4 separate regions of the Homo sapiens genome follow, and regions 2, 3 and 4 are each linked to region 1. The links are contacts of gene promoters, found by promoter capture Hi-C in human tissues and cell types (Jung and others, 2019). All regions are on one chromosome and are shown on one strand. The core of a region is centred on a gene start or on the middle of the fragment in contact, and the rest is flanking DNA. Distances in the headings are between cores, read along the strand shown.

Region 1 (2,772 bases), core at 134-2,633:
AGGAATAAAGATGGTGGGGCAGGTTGGGCAGAAGAAATTCAGGCACGACTGAAATGCAAAGCATTTCTGACACTGATAGGAAGGCTTATTGATAGAGAAAGGCTTGGGACCCACTGCTCCACATTTACAGCTTAAAAAGAAAAGAAAAGCAAAGGGACAAAACTAGTTTTTACCGACTTACAAGATATTTTCTACAACTAGGGAAGACACAGAGTAATGTCATCCAATACAGTTTAGAGTAGAATTCCATTGCGCCAATAAAGCACAAGGTACATTAAGAGGATTATTTTAAATATTCTGAACGCTTATTTAGCCTTAAGGTTCTATAGCAAAGGCAAAGGGTGGCAAAGACAAGATTATGCAACAAAACAGCGAAATTTTGCTTTCTAAAAAAAAGAGAATATGATTACACTTAACACCTCCTGGCAACAATGATCTCGTGCAGAATAAACACCCAAAGGCAAAGAGCTGAGACAGAGTCCTCGGTCCTTTCTGGTTTTTTTGTTTTTTGTTTTGTTTTGGTTTGGTTTGGTTTTTGTTTTTTTAAACAGAGACAGCCTCTGCCGGACCCAGTAGCTCACGCCTGTAATCCCAGCACTTTGGGAGGCAGAGGCGGGCGGATCACCTGAGGTCAGGCGTTCGAGACCAGCCTGACCAACATGGGGAAACCCCGTTTCTACTAAAAATACAAAAATTAGCCGGGCGTGGTGGCGGACGCCTGTAATCCCAGGAGCCAAGACCGCGCCACTACACTCCAGCCTGGGCGACAGAGCGAGACTCCGTCTCAAATAATAATAATAATGATAAAGTAATAATAATAGAAACAGCCTCTCACTCTGGCCCCCAGGCTGAAGTGCAGTGGCGCGATTTCGGCTCACTGAAACCTCCGCCCCCGCCGGGTTCAAGCATTCTCCCGCCTCAGCCTCCGGAGTAGATAAGACTATAGGCGGCGCCACCGCGCCCGGCTAAGTGCTTTTTTACGGAGACAGAAGTTCCGCCATGTTGCCCAGGCTGCTCTCGCCTGAGCTCACGCGATCCTCCCGCCTCGGCCTCCCAAAGCGCTGGGATTACAGGCTGGAGCCACCTCGCCGGGCCCTTCTCTGGTTCTTTAACGTCCCGCTACCGCGCAGGGGTGGACGCGGAGATAGGGGCTGGGCGCGGTGGACACGGCCGCTCAGGCCCAGCGCAGCCTCCTAGGGAGCCTCCGGACAGGCCGCGGGCAGGCGGCCGGGGCTGCGGGGGGTGCGGCCCAGGCCACGTACAGGGTCCCCCGGGAAACCCAGCTGCACGCCCCCTCGCCCCTTCGCCCTCTCACCCCTCGCCGCAGCACCTACCTGCAGCCCAAGCCTCTGCGGCTCCTGCCACCCCGGGCCAGCACGCACTGGGCCTACTGCGCTTGCGCGTTCGGAAGCGCGTCCTGGGCGGGTGAGCGTGGCGCTGCTGCCCCCTGGCGTCCTCCTCCGGCCGTGCACTGAAGCCGGAGCGAACGCCGCGGCGGTACCAGCGCGCACCTACCCAGTCTCCCTGTCTGGCTTCTGCTTCCCTAACTTGGGAGAACGATTTTGTGTTGACCGACTATTGCTTCAGCCTGGAGCCAGGCTCATGCAGAGCAGCTGTCAGATCTAGACGCACTGCGAGGCCTTCCAAAGCGTAGTCCTCAGACCCGCGGCATCTGCAGGGACCTTGCTGGAAAGGCTGATTCCCAGCTCCGGCCCAGACCCGCCACTCGGGGACCCAGATGCCTGAAGTTGGACAATCGCTCTGTAAAAGAAACTGTGGGGCTTAGCCTAGACGCAGTAAAGCTGAGCTGCACACATCAAGCGCAGCAGACAAGACCTTGGCAAGCCTCCGCGGAGGGGCAGGACTGGGCAAAGGCGGGGAAGTCCGTCGAGGGCCGGCCAGGAGCCCTGCCGGGAGCCCAACACGCACTCGGGCGCTTGCTCCGGGAAACCGAAAGGGAGGCTTGCAGCATCGAAGTCAGCTGGGTCATGGAACGTCTAGGTTGTGTACATCGGAAGCGTTAGCTGCTTCTACACTGACACACTGCGAAAGTCCAGAATCAAGACAGTAACATGGTGTGGGTTAAAAAAACTGAGCCGGTACTAGCTATCCAAACAGTATTAAAATTAACAGAAACGTTTGCCTATCACATGGACAAACAGCGGTAATACCTCCTGTCGTTACAGTAGAGTCTGAAAGTTTCCTCACACATACAAGTGAGTGTAAATTGGAATTCCTCCTACGTGCCCTAGCAAATCCATTTCTAGGAATTTATCCTTCAGAAATAACGTCTGTGGCCGGGCGCCGTGGCTCATGCCTGTAATCCCAGGACTTTGGGAGGCCGAGGTGGGCGGATCACGAGGTCAGGAGACCGAGACCATCCTGGATAACACGGTGAAACCCCGTCTCTACTAAAAATACAAAAAATTAGCCGGGCATGGTGGCGGGCGTGAGAATGGCGTGAACCCGGGAGGCGGAGCTTGCAGTGAGCCGAGATCGCGCCACTGTACTCCAGCCTGGGTGACAGAGCGAGACTCCGTCTCAAAAAAAAAAAAAAAAAAAAAGAAAAAGAAATAATATGTCTGCAAGATGTATGCACAAGAGATCTTGCTGAAGCATTGCTGATAAAAGATATTTATAATAGAGAAAAAAAGAAACCTGAATGTATAACAATAGGGGTTTCTGAAAGAAATTATATTACATCCACATAGCCATGAAAAATACTAACGGGTGCACAGTTTCAGTGTGAGAAGATGGTAAAGTCCTGGAGAT
Region 2 (2,772 bases), core at 89-2,588, 430 kb before region 1:
GGACACCTCTTGAGCTTTGCTGCATAGAAGTTCATTCCACCCAGATACACCCTAAATCTTTACCCTCAGGATCAAAGATTCACATATCTTGAGGGCAGGGTCACCAGTCGGCTAAGTTCTTTGCTATGGTAAGACAAAAGTGACCTGGGCTTTTATTCCCAGTATAACTTCCTCATTTTCAACTGAGACCTTCTAAGCCTGGCCTTCACTATACATCTGTCAACCTTTTAATCATAATTATTTAAAACATTTCTACAATAGGTCCAACTTTCTGTCATGTCCCTATCTTCTTCAAAGCCCTCCAAACTCTCTGACCTTTGGCTGTTACCCACTTCTGAACCTGCTTCTACATTTTCAGCTAATTTAGTCACACCTGGCAATGTGGTAAAAGAAGAAAACCCCATTTTCAGGGAGAAAATTCAAGAAAGCTTCAGATCTTTGCATAAAAAAGGTAGGCCAATGCTAACAGGCAAGATAATGAAGAAAAGGCCTTGAAGGCATTTCATAGCTCCACTTTGCAGTACTAATTTTCTGTGTGATCATAAAGAAAAGAGGTTAAATTGGCTCTGGTTTCTGTAGGATGTAAAGGAAGCAGAGTGGCTTCTGTTTCTGGGAGGACCCAGGAAGCCTCCCAATCATACCAGAAGGCTGAGGAGCAATGAGATGTTTCAAATGGCAGGAGTAGGAGAAAGACAGAAAGAGGAAAGAGGTGCCACATGCTTTTATACAACCAGATCTCATGAGAACTATCATGAGGCCCACATCAAGAAGACGGTGGTTAACCATGGGTGAGGGATCTTCTCCCACACCCACCCACCACTGTTTTCAGGCAGAACCTGCTGCAGAGGCCGAGCCTCTTGGAAAACTGCTACTCGGGCACTGCAGAAGGAAAATATGGGCGTGGAGCCCCCACACAGGGGGCCACCATCCTCCAGACCCCAGATTCATAGACCCACCAACAGCTTGCACCCTCAATGTGAAAAAGCTACAGGCATTCAACACCAGCCCAGCCCATGAGAGCAGCCACGGGGGCTAAACCCTGTGAATCCACGGCACACTGCCCTAGTAGAGTTTTTCTATGAGGCTCTGTCTCTACAGCAGGCTACTCTGCTTCCTACTACCCTTCACCCTCCCACCACCCTACTGAAAACCTACTTTTCCCCACCCTACCCACCCCTTTTTCCTTGCACCCCCACCCCCCTCCCTTCCATTATTATATCACCTCCCACCAGGCCCTACCTCAAGCATTTGAGATTTCAATTCCACATGAGTTGTGGTAGGGACAAATACCCTAACCGTATTATTCTGACCTCGACCCTTCTGAATCTCATGTCCTTCTCACAGAGCAAAATACAATCATTTCTTTTCAAAAGTTTCCAAAAATCTTAACTGATTTCAGCATTAATTCAAATGTAAAAAGTTCATTGTCTCATATAAGATAAGGCTGCAAATGAGTCCCTGAATTTAAAAAGGAGTTCTTTTCTTCCAAGGTACAATGATGGTACAGGTATTGGGTAAGCTTTCTCAATCCAAAGGGAAGAAATTTCCCAGGAAAATAACACAAATGGGACCACAGGCCCAATGCAAGCCCAAAATCCAGCCAGCCACTATTCATTCAATCTTACAGCTCCAAAATCATCATGAGAATCACTATCATGAGGACAGCATGAAGGAGATGGTGTTTAACCATTTGTGAAGGATTCACACCACCCCGACCTTTCCCTCCCCCACCACCATAATCCCTGCCATTCTCCCAACCACCTCCCAACTTCCAACCCCCACTCTCATCCATGATTACATCACCTTCCACCAGGCCCCACTTTTAACATTCCCGATGACAATTCCATATGAGTTTTGGTAGGGACACAGAGCAAAATCATATTATTTTGCCCTGGCCCCCAATATCTCGTGTCCTCCTCACATTGCACAATACAATGTTGCCTTCCCTACAGTCCTCCAAATCTTAACCCTTTCCAGCATTTACATAATTGTTTATAGCTTAAAATCTCATCTGACACAGGCTACACTCCCTTCTGCCCATGAGCCTCTGAAATATAAAGCAAGTTATCTACTTCCAAGGTACAATGGTTGCACAGGCAATGGGTAAGCATTCCCAGCCAAAAGGAAGAATTTTGCCAGAAAGAACAAAAGCAGATGAGACTTACAGGCCTCATGAAATTCCAGAACACAGCAGTCAAGTCTTTCAATCCTACAGCTCCAAAATCATCCTTTTTGCTTCACTGTCCCAAATCCAGAGCACAGGGGTGTGAGGGCTGGGCTCCCAAGGCCTTGGGCAGACCTGCACCTGTGTCTTTGCACTGTTTAGTGACCATGGCTGCTCTCATGGGCTAGGCTGGTGTTGAGTGCCTGTAGCTTTTCCCCTCTAAGGGTACAAGCTGTTGGGGGTGTATGAATCTGAGGTTTTGAGAGTGGTGGCCTCCAGTGTGGAGGCTCCAACCCCATATTTTCCTTCTGCACTGCCCTAGTAGAGGTTTTCCATGAGGCTCTCCTCCTTTGGCAGTCTTCTGCCTGGACACCCAGGCATTTCCATACATCTTCCAAAATCTATACAAAGGCTCCAAAGCCTCTTGTCTCATGCTCTACACACCCGCTGGCTGAACACTATGTGGAAGCCACCAAAGCTTATAGCTTGCAGGCCCCAAAGCTGTGACCCAAGCTGTACATGTGCATCTTTCAGCCATTGCTAGAGCTGGAGCTGGCACTGCAGGGATGCAGGCAGCAGTGTCCTGAGGCTGCACACAGCAGTGAGGC
Region 3 (2,772 bases), core at 70-2,569, 390 kb before region 1:
GGTCTTTACATTTTGGCATGATTTTGCAGTGGCTGGTACCGGTTGTTCCTTTCCATGTTTAGTGCTTCCTTCAAGAGCACTTTTAGGACAGGCCTGGTGGTGACGAAATCTCTCAGCATTTGCTTGTCTGTAAAGTATTTTATTTCTCCTTCACTTATGAAGATTAGTTTGGCTGGATATGAAATTCTGGATTGAAAATTCTTTTCTTTAAGAATGTTGAATATTGGCCCCCACTCTCTTCTGGCTTGTAGAATTTCTGCTGAGAGATCCGCTGTTAGTCTGATGGGCTTCCCTTTGTGGGTAACCCGACCTATCTCCTTGGCTGCCTTTAACATTTTTTCCTTCATTTCAACTTTGGTGAATCTGACAATTATGTGTCTTGGAGTTGCTCTTCTCAAGGAGTATCTTTGCGGCATTCTCCGTATTTCCTGAATGTGAATGTTGGCCTGCCTTGCTAGATTGGGGAAGTTCTCCTGGATAATATTCTTCAGAGTGTTTTCCAACTTGGTTCCATTCTCTCCGTCACTTTCAGGTACACCAATCAGATGTAGATTTGGTCTTTTGACATAGTCCCATATTTCTTGGAGGCTTTGCTCGTTTCTTTTTATTGTTTTTTTCTCTAAACTTCCCTTCTCACTTCATTTCATTCATTTCATCTTCCATCGCTGATACCCTTTCTTCCAGTTGATTGCATTGGCTCCTGAGGCTTCTGCATTCTTCAGGTAGTTCTCGAGCCTTGGTTTTCAGCTCCATCAGCTCCTTTAAGCACTTCTCTGTATTGGTTATTCTAGTTATACATTCTCCTAAATTTTTTTCAAAGTTTTCAGCTTCTTTGCCTTTGATTTGAATGTCCTCCCGTAGCTTGGAGTAATTTGATCATCTGAAGCTTTCTTCTCTCAGCTCGTCAAAGTCATTCTCCGTCCAGATTTGTTCCATTGCTGGTGAGGAACTGCGTTCCTTTGGAGGTGGAGAGGCACTCTGCTTTTTAGAGTTTCCAGTTTTTCTGCTCTGTTTTTTCCCCATCTTTGTGGTTTTATCTACTTTTGGTCTTTGATGATGGTGATGTACAGATGGGTTTTTGGTGTGGATGTCCTTTCTGTTCGTTAGTTTTCCTTCTAACACACAAGACCCTCAGCTGCAGGTCTGTTGGAGTACCTGGCCAGATGTGTGAGATGTCAGTCTGCCCCTGCTGGGGGGTGCCTCCCAGTTAGGCTGCTCAGGGGTCAGGGGTCAGGTACCCACTTGAGGAGGCAGTCTGCCCATTCTCAGATCTCCAGCTGCATGCTGGGAAAACCACTGCTCTCTTCAAAGCTGTCAGACAGGGACACTTCTGTAGGTATCTTTAAAAAAAATAATTTCTCATTGGTGTTGCTGCACACTGACTAAGTCTTGCAGTTCTCATTCTCATTTGCTTATGGTATTAGAAAGGTATTGCTGAGTTTCCACTTTTAAAGATAGTTACTTTTTTAGTGACACAAACCTCAGTGTAATATAGCTAACCTTTGACCAACACAGGCTTGAACTGTAGGGGTCTACTACTCATATGCAGATTTTCTTCTACCTCTGTCACCTCAGACAGCAAGCCCAACCTCCCTCTTTCTCCTCTTCAGCCTATTCAACTTGAAGATTAAGGATGAAGACATTTATGATGATCCACTTCCACTTGATATTAATTATATTTTTTCTTCCCGACAGTTTCTTTTCTCCAGTTTATTGTACAAATACAACATACAATACTTATAACACACCAAATATCATCTTAACTGACTGTGTTACCAATAAGGCTTCTGGTCAACAGTAGGCTATTAGTAGTTAAGTTATGAGGGAAGTCAAAAGTTATACATAGATTTTTGGCTGCATGGAGGATTGGTACCCCTAAGTCCTACACTGTTCAAGGGTCAACTGTAATTAACATTCATTTGCTCAAAGCAAACCATTTATTTAAATAATTAAATAGAAGATTCAATTGTATAACAAGTCCAATTTGTTATCATGTGACCGTAAAAAAGATATACCATGTACTAACTTGTGTTTTTCTTATTTACATAAAAATATTATACAAGATTTTAGAGACCATAATTAAATTTTTCAGATATTTGAAATTATAAATCACCTAAAATGAAATTTTTAAATAATTCTGAAATCGAACCTACTCTCAAAAAAAATTGTAAAATATATACATGCAATTTATACACAGTGATTTTTCAAACTGTTTTTTTTTTGTGATAAAAACTTCCTTACTTTTACTTTCTTATCTATGGTAGGACCACCTAGCGCAGGGGTCCACAACTCCTGGGCAACAAACTGGTACCAGCCCATGGCCTGTTAGGAACCAGGCCACACAGCAAGAGGTGAGTGGCAGGTAAGCCAGCAAAGCTTTATCTGTATATACAGCCACACCCCATTTCTCCTATTCCCACTTGAGCTCCACCTCCTGTCAGATCAGAGGTAGAATTAGATACTCATTGGAGCATGAACCCTGCTATAAACTGTACATGCTAGGGATCTAGGTTGTGTGCTTCTTATGAGAATCCAATGCCTGATGATCTGTCACTTTCTCCCATTGCCTCCAGATGAGAACATCCAGTGACAGGAAAACAAGTTCAGGGATCTCACTAACTCTACATTATGGAGAGTTGTATCATTATTTCATTATATATTACAATATAATAATATAAAGTAGCACAATAAATGTAATGTGCTGGAATCATCCCAAGACCATCCCCTCCTTCCTCCAGTCCATGGAAAAATTGTCGTCCACAAAACCGGTCC
Region 4 (2,772 bases), core at 168-2,667, 330 kb before region 1:
TAGTTAGCTCTTCTTGTTGAATTGATCCCTTTACCATTATGTAATGGCCTTGTCTCTTTTGATCTTTGTTGGTTAAAGTCTGTTTTATCTGAGACTAGGATTGCAACTCCTGCCTCTTTTTGTTTTCCATTTGCTTGGTAGATCTTCCTCCATCCCTTTGTTTTGAGCCTATGTGTGTCTCTGCACGTGAGATGGGTTTCCTGAATACAGCACACTGATGGGTCTTGACTCTTTATCCAATTTGCCAGTCTGTGTCTTTTAATTGGAGCATTTAGCCCATTTATGTTTAAGGTTAGTATTGTTATGTGTGAATTTGATCCTGTCATTATGTTAGCTGTTTATTTTGGTCATTAGTTGATGCAGTTTCTTCCTAGCCTTTGATGGTCTTTACAATTTGGCATGTTTTTGCAGTGGCTGGTACAGGTTGTTCTATTCCATGTTTGGTGCTTCCTTCAGGAGCTCTTTTGGGCAGGCCTGGTGGTGACAAAATCTCTCACCATTTGCTTGTCTGTAAAGTATTTTATTTCTCCTTCACTTATGAAGCTTAGTTTGGCTGGATATGAAATTCTGGGTTGAAAATTCTTTTCTTTAAGAATATTGGCCCCCACTCTCTTCTGGCTTGTAGAGTTTCTGCTGAGAGATCAGTAAAGCTGGAACTTCACTTCTGTTCTATTTCCTATCTTAAATTGTATCCAGCCATATTACCTAATATATCCTTTCAAAGCTTCTGCAATGATATTAAATAATGACCGTAAGATAGTCCAATAATCGTATGTCACCACATATTGATACTCCAAAATTAAATATAATTTCCCTCTCATTAATAGTTTCCCAGGAATTATAATTAAATTCAAATATTAAAAGCTTTAAAAAATTCAAATTCTTAACCTTAAAATCCATAAAAGCTAAAGTCTGAAAAATTCCTGCTGTCTTTGTTGTGCAGTATGAATCCAAAGAAATTAATGTCTCAAATCCCAACTTAAATTCTAAACTTATTCTCTCCAACTTCTCATTCTCTTCAGTTTCAGTTAGATGAATTTTCTCCATATCTGCATTCTTTCAGCAGCTACAGCCTGACTCTTTCTCAGGAGTGGCTGCAGTTTCTTCAGGACCTCAGAAATTGTGTTTGTTCACTCCTAAGTCAACTCAGAAGCCTCATTTTTAAGGATCAAATGCATTACTAGAACATACAAAACTGAACATCATGTTTTCCGCACCCACACGTTTTAGAAAATAAAGCAATCCCATTTGCTAGTAATGTTATCGCAAACATAATTATGTTCTAGAACCTAGTATATACTGTTGTAAAGGTCATTATAGAAACTCAAAAGTATCTGAAAAAGAAATATTAGTTTCAACTTTACTAAATAGCTGATCAACTCACCCCTTTATAATAAAAACCCTCAATGAACTAAGCATCATACCTCAAAATATTAAGAGCCATCTGTGACAGACCTGCAGCTGACATCATAATGAAAAGACAAATTTAGAAACATTCCCTCTTAGAACTGGAATAAACAAGAATGTCCACTTACACCACTCCTATTCAATGTAGTACTGGAAATCCTAACCACAGCAATCAGCCAAGAGAAAGAAATAAAAGGCATCCAAATAGAAAAAGAAGTCAAACTATCTCTCTTCACTGAACATATAATTCTGTACATAGAAAACCCAAAGGATTTCTCCAAAAGACTCCTAGGCTTGACAAATGATGTGGTGAAGTTTCAGGATACAAAATCTACATATAAAAATCAGTATTATTTCCATACACCATCAACATTCAAGCTGAGAACCAAATCAAGAATGCAATCCCACTTATAGCCAAAACAAACAATAAAACAAATAAAAACCTAGGAATACATCTGCCCAAGGAGGTAAAAGATCTCTACAGGAGATGCTTGTCTGGGGTATATGAGCATTACCCTAAAAATCCATTAGAGTTGTACAGAAAAGTTCACAGCAGCATTATGCATAATTGCTAAAAAACTGAAACAATGTAATGCCCATCAACTGATGCATAAATGAATAAAATGTGGTATATATCCAAAACATATTCAGCTATAAAAAGAAATGAATATTGCTATGTGATACAATATAGATGAATCTTGAAAACACTGTGCTAATGGAAAGAAGCCAGTCACAAAAGGCTACATATAACGTGATTCAATTGACATGAACTATCCAGACTATGTAAATTTGTAGATGCAAAAAGCAGATTTCTGGTCATTAGGAGATGAGAGAAGGGAAAAATTGGGACTCACTGCTAATTGGTACAGGGTTTTTTTTGGGGGGGTGGCAGAAATACTCTAGAGTGAGACAATAGTGATGGTTGCACTACATAGTTAATATGCTGGAAATCACTGAATTCTACACTTTTAAACAGTGAATTTTACGTTATATAGATTATATCACATTAAAAAAAAAACCCTTACATTGAGAGAAACCTGTCATAAGAGATTAAATTTGACCATATGGGATTTATCATAACTATGGCACCAGAGTGGGTTAAAGGCTTATTCGCTTATCTTCTTTCCCAATTATTGTCATCTGAGATACTCCTGGCTTTTTAATCTCTAAAATTTGCAATGAAATCACCCCCCACCCCACTCACTGGGCATCAGGTACTACTGAGAAGTTCTTCCCATTCAGTATTTTCTCAGCCTTTTAGTCTCAATCTCCCCACTGAGTACCCTTCTAATGCTATACTAAGAGTGGACTCCATCTGGCCAGGTAGCTAACACTGTATCCCAGGAACTGGTAGTTTTGGTCCTG

The links. The method cuts DNA at HindIII sites, captures the fragments that hold promoters and counts their contacts. A contact is called where the count stands out against the background at its distance.
Region 2: a fragment that was not itself captured here is called in contact with the fragment with the promoter of POMK in region 1 in 2 of the 25 tissues and cell types used here (aorta and mesenchymal stem cells).
Region 3: a fragment that was not itself captured here is called in contact with the fragment with the promoter of POMK in region 1 in 2 of the 25 tissues and cell types used here (dorsolateral prefrontal cortex and lymphoblastoid cells).
Region 4: a fragment that was not itself captured here is called in contact with the fragment with the promoter of POMK in region 1 in 1 of the 25 tissues and cell types used here (lymphoblastoid cells).

Annotation. Positions count from the first base shown.
Region 1 is chr8:43,092,126-43,094,897 of GRCh38, reverse strand. POMK (protein O-mannose kinase) reads right to left here and starts at 1,383. Exons shown (of 5, transcript NM_032237.5): 1 at 1,335-1,383. RefSeq lists a silencer at 1,146-1,355 and enhancers at 607-1,512, 1,513-2,419. The HindIII fragment of the contact is 5,704 bases long and covers 1-2,772 here.
Region 2 is chr8:43,517,849-43,520,620 of GRCh38, reverse strand. No RefSeq gene overlaps it. Among named protein-coding and RNA genes, the nearest start is that of POTEA, 230 kb to the right of the region's middle. The HindIII fragment of the contact is 3,220 bases long and covers 1-2,772 here.
Region 3 is chr8:43,487,019-43,489,790 of GRCh38, reverse strand. The region is part of intron 1 of LOC105379397 (a long non-coding RNA gene); the gene reads right to left. Among named protein-coding and RNA genes, the nearest start is that of POTEA, 200 kb to the right of the region's middle. The HindIII fragment of the contact is 3,474 bases long and covers 1-2,772 here.
Region 4 is chr8:43,423,388-43,426,159 of GRCh38, reverse strand. No RefSeq gene overlaps it. Among named protein-coding and RNA genes, the nearest start is that of POTEA, 130 kb to the right of the region's middle. The HindIII fragment of the contact is 3,630 bases long and covers 1-2,772 here.